6 separate regions of the Homo sapiens genome follow, and regions 2, 3, 4, 5 and 6 are each linked to region 1. The links are contacts of gene promoters, found by promoter capture Hi-C in blood cells and fetal thymus (Javierre and others, 2016). All regions are on one chromosome and are shown on one strand. Each heading gives the region's core, a stretch centred on a gene start or on the middle of the fragment in contact. The rest is flanking DNA. Distances are from core to core; before and after follow the strand shown.

The links. The method cuts DNA at HindIII sites, captures the fragments that hold promoters and counts their contacts. A CHiCAGO score of 5 or more calls a contact.
Region 2: a fragment that was not itself captured here is called in contact with the fragment with the promoter of SANBR in region 1 in 2 of 17 cell types (M2 macrophages and non-activated CD4 T cells); the score reaches 7.8 in M2 macrophages.
Region 3: a fragment that was not itself captured here is called in contact with the fragment with the promoter of SANBR in region 1 in 2 of 17 cell types (M2 macrophages and M1 macrophages); the score reaches 6.7 in M2 macrophages.
Region 4: a contact is called between a fragment that was not itself captured here and the fragment with the promoter of SANBR in region 1, in 10 of 17 cell types (activated CD4 T cells, naive CD4 T cells, total B cells and 7 more). The highest score is 8.2, in activated CD4 T cells.
Region 5: a fragment that was not itself captured here is called in contact with the fragment with the promoter of SANBR in region 1 in 1 of 17 cell types (M2 macrophages); the score reaches 5.3 in M2 macrophages.
Region 6: a fragment that was not itself captured here is called in contact with the fragment with the promoter of SANBR in region 1 in 1 of 17 cell types (naive B cells); the score reaches 5.3 in naive B cells.

Annotation. Positions count from the first base shown.
Region 1 is chr2:61,064,417-61,067,241 of GRCh38, forward strand. SANBR (SANT and BTB domain regulator of CSR) reads left to right here and starts at 1,455. Exons shown (of 22, transcript NM_001129993.3): 1 at 1,455-1,611. RefSeq lists silencers at 1,235-1,604, 1,635-1,984, 1,995-2,054 and enhancers at 1,344-1,845, 1,846-2,345. The HindIII fragment of the contact is 4,406 bases long and covers 1-2,825 here.
Region 2 is chr2:61,486,469-61,489,293 of GRCh38, forward strand. It overlaps XPO1 (exportin 1), which reads right to left. Exons shown (of 25, transcript NM_003400.4): 18 at 2,120-2,303; 19 at 1,697-1,803. Among named protein-coding and RNA genes, the nearest start is that of USP34-DT, 17 kb to the left of the region's middle. The HindIII fragment of the contact is 1,111 bases long and covers 829-1,939 here.
Region 3 is chr2:61,377,686-61,380,510 of GRCh38, forward strand. It overlaps USP34 (ubiquitin specific peptidase 34), which reads right to left. Exons shown (of 80, transcript NM_014709.4): 7 at 2,484-2,676; 8 at 678-739. Among named protein-coding and RNA genes, the nearest start is that of SNORA70B, 38 kb to the right of the region's middle. The HindIII fragment of the contact is 1,765 bases long and covers 538-2,302 here.
Region 4 is chr2:60,770,148-60,772,972 of GRCh38, forward strand. It overlaps PAPOLG (poly(A) polymerase gamma), which reads left to right. Exons shown (of 22, transcript NM_022894.4): 6 at 311-364; 7 at 1,372-1,483. Among named protein-coding and RNA genes, the nearest start is that of PAPOLG, 15 kb to the left of the region's middle. The HindIII fragment of the contact is 236 bases long and covers 1,251-1,486 here.
Region 5 is chr2:61,351,086-61,353,910 of GRCh38, forward strand. All of the region lies in intron 10 of USP34 (ubiquitin specific peptidase 34), which reads right to left. Among named protein-coding and RNA genes, the nearest start is that of SNORA70B, 65 kb to the right of the region's middle. The HindIII fragment of the contact is 4,932 bases long and covers 1-2,825 here.
Region 6 is chr2:60,802,978-60,805,802 of GRCh38, forward strand. No RefSeq gene overlaps it. Among named protein-coding and RNA genes, the nearest start is that of PAPOLG, 48 kb to the left of the region's middle. The HindIII fragment of the contact is 5,100 bases long and covers 1-2,825 here.

The sequences.
Region 1 (2,825 bases), core at 205-2,704:
ATAATTTACCTGGCTGGGCATGGTGGCTCACGCCTGTAATCCCAGCACTTTGGGAGGCCGAGGCGGGCAGATCACCTGAGGTCAGGAGTTCAAGACCAACATGGTGAAACCCCATCTCTACTAAAAATACAAAAAATTAGCTGGACATGGTGGCATGCGCCTGTAAATCCCAGTTACTCAGGAGGCTGTGGTAGGAGAATCGCTTGAAGGGAGGTGGAGGTTGCAGTGAGCCCAGACGGTGCCACTGCACTCCAGCCTGGGCAACAGAGCAAGACTCCATCTCAAAAAAATAAAAAAAGAATTTACCTGACTTAACCTAACATCTTATGATACGACACTTGCCTAACTTTATTTTTATTTTTATTTTTGACAGGGTCTCACTCTGTTGCCCAGCTTGGAGTGCAGTGGTGCAAACATAGCTCATTGGGGCCACCACGCCCAGCTAACTTAAAAAAAAAACAACTTTTTTTTTTTTTTGGTAGAGACAGGGTTTCACTTTGTTGTTCAGGCTGTGCTCAAGCAATCCTCTCGTCTTGGTCTCCCTAAATGCTGGGATTATGGGATTACAGGTGTGAGCCACCGCACCCAGCCACTTTAATGTCTTTGTGGAACAAAAATCGTAAAAGATCTGCAGAAAGTCACAGGATGATACAATTGGTAAAAACTCCTGACATTCTGTACAGTGAACCACTTAATCTCTACTTAATCATCAGATCTCGTAGTAATTATTCATTTGGTTAAGGCTTTACTTTTTCTGTTCTTTCTAATCCTAACATTTAATTTTGGTTCTCAGAATAGACCAAGTGGAAATTAGATAGAAATGTTGACATGTAGCAGTTACCCTACAATATTGAGCCGTTTGCATTTTACTAGATGCCCAATAGTAGTGTTCCTCACAATAACACACACACACACACACACACACACACACACACACCCTATTAATGTATGAAAACCGAATTTGTAATCCAGAGCTATTTACATTTTTAAAGAGCTACCTCCTGGTAAAGACACTTCAGGTCCTTACCCAAAGACCTTGGTCTAAAAGATACTTTCGGTGTCCCTCATCATGCGATCTTTCCGCTCTACCTAAGCGGTGTACCAAATGATCTGCACCAAGAACAATTTCATCCATTCTTTAATCTTTTATCTCCTGTATATCCCCCTTTCTTCTGGACTCAGGGTTGGTCACCTAAGATCAGGCTCCTAGGATCTGGTTGCTAAGAGACAAGACGCTGGGAGGGTGGGGACGCTGCACTGCGACAAGCCTGGGAGTGTATGCCAGAGGAGGAAGGAGAAGCAGCAGGCAAGGCAAGGCGACAGTCAGCCGCCGCCGCCCCTCCGGTGCCCTCCCGCCCGGCAGGGGCTCGGCGCTCATTGGCTCCGCCGCTGCGGCGCTGGCCCGCGATTGGCCGGGCGGCGTCGGCTCGGCGGCTCCCCCACCCCTCGGCGCTAGTCTCCGCAGCCGCCTGCAAGCGGGCGGGGGCGGGGTGTGAGGCGCTGCGGACGGGGTTGCGGGCTCGGTAGCGGCAGCTTCAGGGCGCGAGCGCGGGCGGTGCCGACCACTGCAGGTAACAGAGGCGCTGCGAGGGCAGCCGCGGCCCTGTGGAGGTGAGCGAGACGCCGAGGGGGCTCGGGTGCCCACCGCGGGGCGGGAAGTGCGGCATGGGGCGGTACCGCTCACAGCCAGCCGGCTCCCGCCGCGGCTTCCCACCCCGGGCGGGGTCCCACTTGCCCAAACGCCCCCGAACGCCCCCGTGCACAGCCTCAGCCGGCCGCGCCTCGAGCAGCCAGCTGGCCCGCGTCCCGTCACCCGCCCGGTCCATGTCCCTGCAGACCGTCCCGCCCGCGCACAGCGGCGGGAACCCCAGCTTCTGCGCGCCCGGCCGCGCCCCGGGCCTCTGCCCCGCCTCGCTCCCGCTGCCCGGCGCCTTTGTCCGCTCTGCGCCCCTGGAGTTTCTGTGCCTCCACGGGCGGGAGCGGGGCGCGAAGGTCTGGGGGTGCCCCGAGGACGCGCCGCGTAGTGAGCCTCCGGGCCCAAGGTTTGACTGGCTTTGACCTCATGCCGGTTCTGGGATGTGATTTTACTTTCTCCTCCAGCTGACTCCGATCTCCTGTGTGTGCAGAAGTCAGGAAGCCTGGGTACAAGGCTTCTTCCCGGTCCGGGATGACTCGGTGTTACCGCCGCCCTCTGTTAGGCCAGAGGCCTTTGACCTGCCTGCCTGCCTGCCCCACGGGGCCCCCTCTCTTCCCATCTTTCCACTGGCTAAGGGAAAACGTCTCTGTCTCCAAGAGCTTTTTTTTCTATTTGAAATAAGAAAAAAATATATCAGATTCCTGTTGTAGACCTCTATCTGGTGTGGAAGTGACTTAGACTAGTCTTCTTAATTAATACATGTATATTAAATACATAAACCAAGAGAAGGGGGTCGGGGAGGGGAGGGGAAGTATGTTCTTAAAAAATGAAGTCTGTTAAACATATTGGATTTTTATTTTTGGTAAATAACGTATTTTACCTTAAATATTGTCAAGATTTTGATATTTTATGAATGGGAGTGGATTTCATAGTAATTTGAACTTTGAGCTTTTTCTTGTCACCGTTTTTGATAAATTTATACTTTCCTGAATGAGGTGCACTATAACAGCTATTTCGAGATAATTTATGTTTTATTAAGGATTATCCATCAATGCTATGCCTTTTATACTTAAATTCAGACTCTGATTTCTTGGACATTCATTTAACTAGAATTAATGCTGGGGGGTCTTCCCTTGCCTAGTACAGTTGTATAAAGAGAAAGTCAACAGAAAAACTTTTTTCTCATTTG
Region 2 (2,825 bases), core at 134-2,633, 420 kb after region 1:
ATTTTTGAGACGGAGTCTTGCTCTGTCGCCCAGGCTGGAGTGCAGTGGTGCCATCTTGGCTCACTGCAAGCTCCGCCTCCAGGTTCACGCCATTCTCCTGCCTCAGCCTATCGAGTAGCTGGGAGTACAGGCACCTGCCACCACGCCCAGCTAATTTTTTATATTTTTAGTAGAGACGGGGTGTTTCACCGTGTTAGCCAGGATGGTCTTGATTTCCTGACCTCGTGATCCACCCAACTCAGACTAATGTTTTAATCTAATGAATGCTAACTGGTGAGTATTTTCACAAGCAGAAATAACATCAATCAATTACTCTCAGAAAATAAGAAAGACTATGGATTTCTATTATTTTTTTGAAACTGAATCTTGCCATGTTGCCTAAACTGGACTTGAGCTGGGGTGATTCGCCTGCCTTACCCTCCCTGGTGGTTGGGATTACAGGTGCATGCTACAATGCCCAGTAAGATTTTCATGATTCTAAGTAAACTGAGTTATACTTAAAGAGTAACTTCTTGTTCTTTTTTTTTTTTTGAGACGAAGTTTCCCACTTGTGGCCCAGACTGGGGTGCAATGGCGCAATCTTGGCTCACTGTCACCTCCACCTCTGGGGTTCAAGTGATTCTCCTGCCTCAGCCTCCTGACTTCAAGTGATCCACCCGCCTCGGCCTCCCAAAGTGCTGGGATTACAGGCATGAGCCACCGTGAAAAGCCAAGACAAGGAAAATAAACACAATGTTTCATGTGAACAAATATCCCAAACTTTAACATTAATGTTACAAAAGATGATACCCTTTGTATTATTCCCACTGTGCTCCCGACACGTGCTCAAGCTTCTTGTAAATTACAAACATCACAATTCCTTCAATACATCTTACTTTCTGCTTTCAAATTTTAAATACAGTTCTGTTCACATAATACGCATGTTCAGAACCTTTCGATATTTAGGTTAGCCAACTTAAGTATTCCACAAGAATTATATTCAGAACAAGTTTACTGAAAAGTATTTCCTTAACAAGAAACAATACTGAAATTTCAAAACTATGAAAATAACTAGCACACTTGTAAAAAAAAAAACCAAAAAACAAAAAACCAACACTATTCCAAGTAATAGTAGTATTAGAATTTTTTGGACTCTCCCAAGGCTCAATTGAATAACAAGAATGAAACGATACAGTTAAAACCTAAAACTAATTCACAATTTTACAAGTTGAGGCATACGCAGCTGGTTTTTATTACTGAAAATGATTTCCTTTTCTGCAAATCATTTAGGAAAAAGGGTGTAAAAAAGACTTTCAGGCCTTTAATCTGGGAAGCAATCACTTTGCTAAAGAGGTAAAGTAATGACAACTTTGTAGCTCTAGCAATTGTTCTAAAAATCAAGAGGAATGCAAAAACTGCACCGGTACTCCATTAATTAAATCCTCCTAACCTATCTATGGAAACATAAAATGACCCAATTTTCTTAGCTATCTTGTTACATATCACCACCCTTCGCTACTGATTAACAGCAGTTTCTTTTGAAGATGGAATACAGCTATTAGTATATTAACGTAAGGACTACAATAAATAAAATGCCATAAAATAACCACAAAGTTGATATGCTTTAAATTAGCAAAATGCACATAATAGAGTATAGCATATTCCATAAAACACAGCATCAACACTAGAAATCAAAAGCAAAGCATCTCTCACTTACCATCTGTGGATCATTGGATCGGCTCACCCAACCAGATATTAACTTTAAAGTTTCCCTTTTTACAGTTCGCATACTTCTAATCAATGGTTGCTTTGTAACCATTTCACCTACAAAACAGAATCAAATGGAATCTAATTTTACCACTAAACTTATACAGTGGTACTCAGGTGTACATTAGATGCAATTCCATTTTACCATTAAAAAGTTTAAAGCCAAAAGTTCACAAAATTTATTGGGAAAATAAGCTTTAAGACTAATTTTAAAAGGGAAAGGTACACTTAACTGTTTTAAATATGTCTAGGGTCATTTGGGAAATGGGAGGTCTGATTTAAATCTGTAAAAAACATCAAATGTTTGACTTAAGGCAGTAGAAGAGAAGTGGTTTGTTTATACTGCATTGTGTAAGAAATCAGAATCACCTACCATTAGCTTGGATAGCTGCAGAAATATTTTCACTGAGGCACTTGTATACATTAAGCATATCTAAATAAATTCTTCCAAGCTGAATTACAAAGGGGTGTCCAACAGCTTTGCAGGCTCTCACATTTGTTTTCAAAATGCTACCAAGCTGCTTGACTGTTTCAGGATCTTTCAGTATATCCACATTCTTGGAGGAAAAAAAGCAAATTCCATTTATCATATAAGAATTATCCACGGCTGGGAACAGTGGCTCACGCCTGTAATCCCAGCACTCTGAGAGGCCGAGGCGGGCGGATGATGAGTTCAGGAGATCGGGACCATCCTGGATAACACGGTGAAACCCCGTCTCTACTAAAAATACAAAAAAAATAGCCAGGCGTGGTGGCAGCCGCCTGTAGTCCCACCTACTCGGGAGGTTGAGGCAGGAGAACGGCGTGAACGCTAGAGATGGAGTTTGCAGTGAGCCGAGATCGCACCACTGCACTCCAGCCTGGGCGAAAGAGCAAGACTCCGTCTCAAAAAAAAAAAAAGAATTATCCATCATAATGGCCAGGCGAGGTGGCTCACACCTATAATCCCAGCACTTTGGGAGGCTGAGTCGGGTGCATCACCTGAGGTCGGGAGTTCAAGACCAGCCTGACCAACATGGAGAAACCCTGTCTCTACTAAAAATACAAAATTAGCCAGGCACAATGGTGCTTGCTTGTAA
Region 3 (2,825 bases), core at 170-2,669, 310 kb after region 1:
CCTCCAGAACTATGGGAAATAAATTTCTGTTGTTTATAAGTCATCCAATCTACAGTACTTTGTTACAGCAGCCTGGACTAAGACAGTGTACTTTCTGAAAACTATCAGTACCATATTTTTCAAGACTAAATTCTCCAGTATAAACAGTATGCTTTCATACTGTGACAAATAGTACTATATGTTCGCATACGCTTTTAAAAGAGAGAAATGTGGCCAGACACAGTGGCTCACGCCTGTAATCCCAACACTTTGGGAGACTGAGGCAAGTGGATGGCTTGAGTCTACAAGACTAGACTGAGCAACATGGCAAAACTCTGCCTCTGCAAATATCACAAAAATTAGCCAGGCATGCTGGCATGCGCCTATGGTCCCAGCTATCCGGGAGGCTGAGGTGGGAGGATCACCTGACCCTGGGAACTTGAGGCTGTAGTGAGCCATGGTCCCACCACTGTACTCCACCCTGGGCAACAGAGCAAGACCCTGTCTCAAAAAAAAGAGGGAGAGTGAGTTATGTTACAGACAGCATAATGTTCTGAAAGCTTCATGAAGAACTGTACACAATGTCAAAGGGCAAAGAATTTCTAGTAAAAATTTTAAATCTAAAAATTAGAATTTACCATATAAACAACTGTACATTAAAATGGTATACTTATATATAAATTAATGCTCCTACTTACGTTTCTGTGTCCGATACTAATGATTCATTATTGCACACATCATTGAAGGTATGGAGTTGATTCTATGATTAAAGACAAGAAATTAAGGGTTTTTATTTCCAAAATTATTCTTGCATTTGTCAGCAAATACTAACATGGTAAACTGATTGACATATGTAGATCACAATAACTAGATTAATATTATAAAATCTAAGACATAATCAGAGACACACGCTTCCCAATTACTAAAACTATTTCTGTTATATTAAAATACTAAATAATGGCCAGGCGCAGCGGCTCACACCTGTAATCCCAGCACTTTAGGAGGCCAAGGCAGGTGGATCACCTGAGGTCAGGAGCTCTGAGACCAGCCTTACCAACACAGTAAATCTCCATCTCTATTAAAAATACAAAATTAGCTGGGTATGGTGGCATGCGCCTAAAACGCGAGCTACTCAGAGGCTGAGGCACGAAAATCACTTGAACCCAGGAGGCAGAGGTTGCAGTGAGCCAAGATCGCGCCACTGCACTCCAGCCTGGGCGACAGAGTGAGAGTCCATCTCAAAAAAACGAAAAAAAAAAAAAAAAAAAAAAAACAACACTAAATTCATTCCACAAATAGTATTCTTTATTACACTAAGTGCACTGGAGAAAATAAAGCTGAGTAAGTAAAAAAACACAACAATTTAACGCAAGAGAGCAAGTAATATGTCATTATAGACAAAGTTTCAGGAAAGACTCCCCAGATAAATCCACTCAAGATTTAATTTATCTGGGACAATATCAACAAGTATCTTTTATATTTATGAAACCCGGTACACAAGTAAACTCCACCTATTTCACATTTTCAGTGTGACTACACTACCAAAACAAAACAAAACAAAAACAGTAATGTGGCCAGGTGGGGTGGCTCACGCCTGTAATCCCAACACTTTGGGAGGATGAGGCGGGTGGATCACCTGAGGTCAGGAATTCCAGACCAGCCTGGCCAACACGGTAAAAACCCATCTCTACTAAAAATGCAAAAAATTAGCTGGGTGTTGTGGCGCACACCTGTAGTCCCTGCTACTCAGGAGGCTGAGGCAAGAGCATCGCTTGAACCCAGGAGGTGGAGGTTGCAGTAAGCCGAGATCATGCCATTGCACAACAGAATGGGACTCCATCTCCAAGAAAAACCAAAAAACAAAACAAAACAAAACAAAAACCCAGAAATGTAAAGGAGTAAAGCAAATGGGGACTGCAACAAACCGGAGAAAGCATATTCATTCTGAGGGATAAAGTTAATTACTTAGTTCTAACAGACTGTTGTTATGCAAGAATACAGACCCAAGAATACCAGGCCTTCTTCCAACCCCCTCACCAAGAGAAGCCAAGAATACAGATTTTCATGTTACTTTGTCCTATTTAAAAACAGTATTTAAGACTATTCAAAACAAACATTTAGTAAAATTTGGCCTACGGCCCAATAATCTATGGTTTCTGCCTGGAAAATTAATTAACTGCTTATAAAGCCCTCCAATTATTCCTCTTTCTCAAAACATCTATAAACATAAAAACCTAAATAGTTTAAAAAGACAGAAACAAAATGATGAAAGAGTTGGACCCGGAAATCAAATGGACCCACAGTATAAATCCATATAAATCTAAGCTTCAGACTTATTTAAAATAAGAGAAACACAGAAATTATTTGTGAAGACCATATAAAGTAATCCACATAAAATACTTAGCACAATGCCTAGTATGAAGTGCTCCATAAATAGTGGGTAGTATTATGATAGACCAGAAAACAAATAAACGATGACCAAAAATAAAACAAATACAGCTTACTGTTATCTGACTCAATCCAGCCAACCTCATAGTCAAAGTAGGTGACATAAAGTACTTAAATGCAAGATCTAGGCTTTCTTTATCAAAGCATAATGTTGTATCCAATGGTTCTTTGACTGTGCTCCACATTAAGTCAGCCATGTTACGAGCTGCACTCTGTCGTAACTCCTGATCCGAGAGCTTGCATAAATACCTGAAATGATTCAGAAATAGAAAATACACAAAAATTCATAAAGCATTTTTAAAGACCACTCAGTAACTTAAAATGTACATTGTAAGCATTAACATTTTTTGTGTCCAAAACCCACAAACCTCTGGTTTTCCTCTCAGGCCCTGCCTAAT
Region 4 (2,825 bases), core at 119-2,618, 290 kb before region 1:
AATATTTTTAGAGGGATAATAAATTAGATACTGTAACAGGCATTTTGTGTATCTTACATAATACAGGTCACAAAGTAGAAATACTTACCTGGAATGTAAGACCAGAAACATTTTCACTTTGTCTATTGAGTTAAAATACAAATCGGGAGTAAAGATATTCACATTATTGGTAGTTAGAAAGGATAAAGAAGGGATTACTTCTATGTGGTTAAAATACAAATCGGGAGTAAAGATATTCACATTATTGGTAGTTAGGAAGGATAAAGAAGGGATTACACCTATGTGTTATAATTGTTTTCCTTTTTTGTAGGCTGTAGAAGATGCCTTTGTACCTGTTATAAAATTTGAATTTGATGGTATTGAAGTAAGTGTTTAATATTTTTCTGACTTTACAATTGAACTGTTTAAACTTGTAAGTTTGTTTTCTGAAATCAGGCTTAACATAAATGCATATTTTAAAAAATCAAGTAATCTCTTTTTTTTTTTTTAATGAAGAGATGGGGTCTAACTCTATGGCCAAGGCTGGAGTATAGTGACACAATCATAGCTCACTGCACCTTTGAGCACCTGGGTTGAAGTGATCCTTCCACCTGAGCCTCCTGAGTGGCTAGGATTCCAGGCACACACCACCACACCTGGCTAATTTTTTGTATTTTTAGTAGAGACGGGGTTTCACCGTGTTAGCCAGGATGGTCTCAATCTCCTGACCTCGTGATCCGCCCACCTTGGCCTCCCAAAGTGCTGGGATTACAGGCATGAGCCACCGCGCCTGGCCCATATTTTTAATTTCTAAGAATACTATTTTATTCTTTAAATGTTCCTTTTTATTTTTGTCTGCATTTATTTACAGCCTCCTGACCTTATTTCCTAGATATGACATTTTTATCTGCTTTCTTAGGTCTACTGGGTCTGTTACCACTTGTCCATCTGCTTTCCAGCTTTCATAGCTTTTGTTTGTCACTTTCTGTTCTTTGTCCTAGTGAATTTTGCCTTTAACATCAAAATAATACTAAACACAAAAATAAAATTGAATTTTCGTGGTATTTTAGTGAGGTTTCAAGAGGGAGTGAATGTAAATGTGTGTTGGATCTTCTATCTTTATCTAGAAATTTGCTCATAAGGCTTTGATTTTTTTTTCTGCTTGGCATATATGTTAACATTTAAATGCTTTCATTAATTGAAAGTTTAATTACCTTAACACAACTTTATAGTGATTTTCCCATGTGAGACTGCCTACATAGGCCTATCGAAGCTTTGGTAGAACTTCCCAAACTCATAACCAGAGCTTTTCACATTTTTTGGTGGGATGGGAGAGGATGGATTAAAAGGAGAAAATGTAATTTTTTTCTCTTTTTTCACATCTTTCCAAAGATTGATCTAGTCTTTGCAAGACTGGCAATACAAACCATATCAGATAATTTAGATCTAAGAGACGACTCTCGCCTGAGAAGCCTTGATATAAGGTGTATTCGCAGCTTAAATGGTAAGCTTCTAAAAAGAAATCTCAGATACCTGCTTCAGAACAATTAGAGAAATATAGATATTTTTGCTGAATTGACTATTCAGTTTTGGAGATTGGACTCAGTTTAAAATGTAATTTTCCTTATACAGATAATGTGACCACATTTAAGAATCCTAAAAACCACAAATTTATTTGAAAGGCTGTGTATATTTATATTACTGGTTCTCAAACTTACTGGTCTCAAGACTTCTTTACACTCTTAAGATTTATGGAGGACCCCAAAAAGCTTTTGTTTATGTGGGTTATATCTGTCAATATTTACCATGTTAAAAAATAAAAACTGAGAAATTTAAAAAGTACTTATTCATTTATAAATAATGAACCCATTTTAAATTAATATAAACTTTTGTGTGTGAAGAATGGCTTCTTTTTTTTTTTTAACATTTTGCAAGTCTCTTTAATATTAGGCCTGATAGAAGACAGCTAGATTCTCATTTGTGTCTACAATTGATTGTAATATTTTGTTTTGGTTAACATATAAGAATAAAATCTGGCCGGGCGTGGTGGCCCACGCCTGTAATCCCAGCCCTTTGGGAGGCCAAGGTGAATGGATTACTTGAGCCCAGGAGTTTCCAGACCAGCTAGGATAACATGGTGAAACCCCATCTCTACCAAAAATAAAAAACATTTAGTTGGATGTAGTGGCACTCGCCTGTAGTTCCAGCTACTCAGGAGGCTGAGGTGAGAGGATCACCTGAGCCCCCGAGGTGGAGGCTGCAGTGAGCCGTGATTACGCCACTGCACTCTAGCTTAGGTGACAGAGTGAGACCCTGTCTCAAAAAAAAAAAAAAAAAAGAGGCCAGGCACAGTGGCTTATGCCTCTAATCCCAGCACTTTGGCAGGCCAAGGCAGGCAGATCACCTGAGGTCAGGAGTTTGAGACCAGCCTGGACAACATGGTAAAACCCCATCTCTATTAAAAATAAAAAACTAGCCAAGTGTGGTGGTGCTTACCTGTAATCCCAGCTACTCGGGAGGCTGAGGCAGGAAAATCACTTGAACCCAGAAGGCGGAGGTTGTGGTGAGCTGAGATCATGCCACCACAATCCAGCCAGGGTGACAGAGCGAGTCTCCGTCTCAAAAAAGAAAGAAAAAATCTGTCCTCTTAGTTGGAAAAGGGAGGAGTGTTTTAATAGCCTTTTCAGATAATTATGGATATTCTTCTTAAACTTGGCCAGTAACATTTTTTTTCTTTTTAACAGTTTTATTGAGATATAATTACATACCATTATACACCTCACTGGTCTTTTTCTTTTCTTTTCTTTTCTTTTTTTTGAGACGGAGTCTCACACTGTTACCCAGGC
Region 5 (2,825 bases), core at 137-2,636, 290 kb after region 1:
GTGCTGAGGTGCACACCTGTGGTCCCAGCTACATAGGCGGCTATGGTGGGAAGATCTCTTGATTCCAATGGAATTAATTTACATGTCATAATACAAAAATAAGTTAAATAGTAAATTAAAATACAAATAAGACAATAAATTACGCTTAGGAGAAAAAAGTAAATTATCACAGGTGTGCCAGATTTGTTATTAAATCTTTATAAAGTATTTATATAATGCTTTTATTTTACTGGAGTACACAACAGAAACCCTTATAAAGATCTATAAAATAATAAACCATGAGATACAAAGACTTCTTTGTTATAATAAACACAAACATGTAAATTCATGAGGGACAATATTTATGAAGATATAAACACTAAATATTATGTCATGTAAAATAAAAGTATTTTACAGCCATGAAGCTGCTAACTACTAAATCAAGATAGGGTAATAAACAGAAGATTAGACAAGTAATTCCCAATTTGAGGGCTGTCAAATGCAAAGTTTCCTACTTTTAATACATAAAAAAATCTATTAAAATATAGATTTTACTCAAAAATACTGATTTTTATATTTTGTAGGCATACACATATGAATTCTCTTCTGCTGCTTCTCTTTCAGGGTAAATATGCACAACCTAATACTGAAATATAAGGTGAAATACATGTAAGAAAACATAATACTGCAGGAATTCTTCTATCTTGGTGAGGCTTCTTATAAATTACACTATCTGCTTCTACTGCTATTTACTTTAACACCACTAAGTATCCATTTAAAAAACAATGGCAGTACTTCAATACTACAAACAGTATTTGATTTTAAGGACAAGTGAATACTCAGTAAGTTTACCACTTTTACAGGTCTTGACTAAGAATGTTAATTTAAATATAGTATTAAATAACATTACAGATTAAAATATGCAAGTTAAGTATCCCCTATCTGAAATGCTTGGAAGCAGAAGTGTTTCAGGTTTTGGATTTTTCCACACTTTGGAGTATCTGCATTATATACTTACCAGTTGAAGATCTCTAATTCAATAATCCAAAATCTTAAATGTTCCAATGAGTACTTCTTTGAGCACCATGTTGGCACTCAGATCTCAAACTTTGTAGCAGTTCAAATTTTAGAGTTTTGGATTAGGAATTCTCAATTTGTACTAACAGTTTTCTCTACTTTTTGCCAACAAGTAACTCTTACATGGTTTTTCTACTTAAAATATGATAAAAACACATATATACATGTTTATATATATAGTATATGTATATACTAAACTATACACTATATGTAATACATAATAAACTTCCAATTTTCTGCCAATTTAACCATTAATATAATGAAATTTCCATAATATACTTAATTTTGATAATTAAGTATATTATTGAAACCTTGTTGGGGTTTCTAGGGTATTAATCTGCCACTTGGTTATTTTTGTTTTGTTTTATACAGATGAAGTCTCATGATATTGCCCAGTCTAATTTTAAAACGCCTAAGCTCAAGTGATCCTCTTGCCTCAGCCTCGCAAAGTGCTGAAATTACAGGAATGAGCCACTGAGCTTATTTTTAAGTAACAAGACCCTTGAGAAAAAAAATCATAAAATCCTGTAACTGAGATTAAAAAAAAAAAAAACCCACTCTTTCAAATGTGTACATTATTTAATTCCACAGTACACAAAAAATATTATTAAGAATGCGTGGTGGTGGCAGCAGCAGAGGAGGAGGAAGAGGACAAAGAGGAGGAGGACAAGGAGGATGAAGAAACAAAGATGACGAAGAGGACAAAGACGATGAAAACAAAGACGATGAAGACGAAAAAGAAAAGGATATCAGGGAAGATGGGAGAACAGAAAACGCCAGGAATCCATTACTATACCAAGACAAAAAATGTACTAGCCGAATCAGATGTAAGTATCCTGAAACTCTAGAGTCAATCTGAACTTCTACACTTAACAATTTCAGCCTCCAATGCCATAGCTGCTACTGCTACCCATTTCTGACACGCACACTCCCAACCTGCCCATGCAATGACAGGCAGCTACGGAGACAACAATACAGGTTTCTGGTACAGCTTCTGGAGACAGGTGGGCAGTAAGGACCACGTCCCTGAACATCAAGATTCTCTGTTCCGACAGCTAGCTGATTGCTAATTCTGACTGGTGAGGTACAGGCACAGAGGCTGGCTGCCATTGTTTCAACACAAACCATCTGAAATGATTACTAGAGGTCTTAGAGTTGTACTTTTTTTTTGCGGAACAAAACAAAAAAGGAAAGAACAAAAAGTCCACAGAAAATATACCTGAAGTCCACCTGTTGCACTTCCTAGACGAATGTTTTTTTTTTTTTTTTTGAGACAGTCTTGCTCTGTCACCCAGGCTGGAGTGCAGTGGTGCGATCTCAGCTCACTGCCACGTGTGCCTCCCAGGTTCAAGTGATTCTCATGCCTCAGCCTCCCAAGTAGCTGGGACCACAGGTGTGTGCCACCACACCCAGCTAGTTTTGTTTTTGTTTTTGTTTTTTTTGTTTAGTTGGGTTTTTTTTGTATTTTTAGTGAAGACAGGGTTTCGCCATGTTGGCCAGGCTGGTCTTAAACTTCTGACCTCAAGTGATCCACCTGCCTCGGCCTCCCAAAGTGCTAGGATTACAGGTGTGACTCACCACTCAGCCACTAGACAAAGATTTTAAAAAACTTTATCTCAAAGATAGTAAGAGTAAAGACAGGAAAACAATGCATGAACAAAATGAGAATATCAGCAAAGGGACAGAAATTATAAAAAGGAACCAAAAAGAAATTATGGAAATGAAAGGTACAACAACTGAAATGAACAATACACTACACAAGGATTCAA
Region 6 (2,825 bases), core at 134-2,633, 260 kb before region 1:
CACCTGTAATCCTAGCACGCTGGGAGGCTGAGGCAGGTGGATCATTTGAGGTCAGGAGTTCAAGACCAGCCTGGCCAAGATGGTGAAGTCCCGTCTCTACTAAAAATACAAAAATTAGCCAGGTGGTAGTGGCATGCACCTGTAATCCCAGCTACTCAGGAGGCTGAGGCAGAATTGCTTGAGCCTGTGAGGCAGAGTTGCTGTGAGCCGAGATCATGCCACTGCACTCCCGCCTGGGCAACAGAGTGAGATCCTGTCTCAAAAAATAAAGAAAAATATATTGGGCCAGGCATGGTGGCTCACTCCTGTAATCCCAGCACTTTGGGAGGCTGAGGCGGGTGGATGGCCTGAGGTCAGGAGTTCAAGATCAGCCTGGCCAACATGGTGAAACTCCGTCTCTACTAAAAATACAAAAATTAGCCAGGTGGTAGTGGCATGCACCTGTAATCCCTGCTACTTGAGAGGCTGAGACAGGAGAATCACTTGAACCCGGGAGGCAGAGGCTGCAGTGAGCCAAGATCGCACAACTGCACTCCAGCCTGGGGGAGACAGAGTGAGACTCCATCTCAAAAAATAAAAATAAAATAATGTACTGCTTTTTAATCCCCTATCCTAAAAACCATCTTTCAAACCATATGATCCAACCAAACTGTTTTAATGGATAGTGTTTAAAAATATATACTTCAGGGCCTTCCTTGCCAATCTTTGATTATTGACATTTTTGGCTTACTGCTGCATAGAGACTTCCATGATACCCTAGCCAGACTCTTACCTTTTCAGTATGTTACTTGTACGTTTGAACGTTTAAATTATTCTGACTTGTGTAATGCTCAGTTTACCTGTTTCCCCTGACAAGATTGTAGGTTTGAGAATAGTGACCTCCGGCCAAGCACAGTGGCTCATGCCCGTAATCCCAGCACTTTGGGAGACCAAGGAAGGAGGATCGCTTGAAGCCAGGAGCTGAAGACCAGCCTGGCCAACATAGTGTCTCTACAAATAAAATTAGCCCAGTGTGGTGGTGCTCACCTGTAGTCCCAGCTACTCAAGAGGCTGAGGTGGACAGACTGCTGGAGCCCAGCAGGTCAAGGCCGCAGTGAGCTATGATCACGCCACTCCACTCCACCCTGGGTGATAGAGTGAGATTCCATGTCTTAAAAAAAAAAAAAAAAAAAAAAAAGAAAGTGAGCTTTATCCAAAAATCTTTATGTAGTGAATACCCAGAAAATATTTAAGAGGAAAACACATGAGTCCTTGTTTGGTTTGAGGGGTAGGATTGTTTTGTTTTTAAATTTAAATAGGATTATCTTAAAGAGAAGCCCAATGAAGGAACTAAGATGCAAGAAGGCAAACAAAACTTCCTGAGGCCATTAAGACACGTTGTCTGTGCCGGGCACAGTGGCTCACACCTGTAATCCCAGCACTGTGGGAGGCTGAGGCAGGCAGGTGCCCAGGCTGTTCCTACCAAGGGGCACCTGCAGGCCCACGTGGAGCCACCGTCAGTACCCCCTTGGCCCCCATCCTGTGCTCCTCGGTGCCCAAAGTCCGGAGGGGCTTAGGCAGCAGGGGGCTGGTGTGTCGGCGCCACTCCGGGCGCACACACACCTGGCCGGGTCGTGACAGCACCCAAGCTCGGCTCCAACTTTGCTCTACCCTGGAGTGGGAGCCGGGAGCAGGGAAAGGCCAAGCAGCGGGAGCAGGCACTTCCGAGCCTGTCGGGGAAGAGGGGCTTCCCAGGTCCCTAAAAGCTAGGGATGCCTGGGTCCGCAGTCGTGACTGGGTGGCTGCAGCTGCACCCAGGAACATCAGGCTCCTGCCCTTCCAATTCAGAAGTGGGCAGGGGTCCCGCCTGTTCCAGGCTCCTGCTGGCTCCATGGCACACGCAGCCCTGGCCGCACCTTCCCTGCTGCAGCCGCTCCAGGTGGGCCACTGCTGCCATCAGTGGCTTGGCTGTGAATGGTCACATAGTCTTTACAAGTAGAGAATAGAGAATATTGAACTAGCCAAAAATTGTAACTATATTCGGAAGAATCGGGGAGGGAGGTAGGACAGGGTGTGAGAGTGAAATCCTCATCTTCAGTGGCAGTGAGTAGTAAATATCTAAGACAAAAATCTAGGATAATATATGCAAGTTATTTAGAAATTTGTAAGTAATCAGTAGGAGAAAAGTCTTAAAATTATGAAAATGTTTGCCTCTAGGGAGCAGATATCAAGAATGAGAAATAGGAAAGTAGATTTTTTTTTTTTTTTTTTTTTTTTTGAGACAGAGTCTCGGTCTGTTGCCCAGGCTGGAGTGCACTGGCACAATCTCAGCTCACTATAACCTCTGTTTCCCAGGTTCAAGTGATTCTCCTGTCTCAGCCTCCTGAGTAGCTGGAATTACAGGCATGTGCCACCATGCCCAACTAATTTTTGTATTTTTAATAGAGACAGAGTTTCGCCATGTTGGCCAGGCTGGTCTCGAACTCCTGACCTCAGGAGATCTGCCCGCCTCGGCCTCCCAAAGTGCCAGGATTACAGACGTGAGCTGCCGCGCCCAGCTGAACTTTTTGACTTTTAAACTAATATATCCACTGTCTAACCAGTAGGGGGTAGGAGAATGTTGCAGACTTTGAAGCCCACAGACCTACGTAGATACCTCAGCTACATCTCTTACCACCTGTGAGACCTTGGACAAATTGCTTAACCTTTGGGTTCAAGGTTACTAATCTGTAAAGTGGAATCTCAACACTTATTTCATATGACAAAAAATGAAGGGTTTAAGAGGCTCTGTAGTTCAATGGCCTAGCCTCAGTTGCCAGCTCTAGCACTTACTTATTGACTATAAG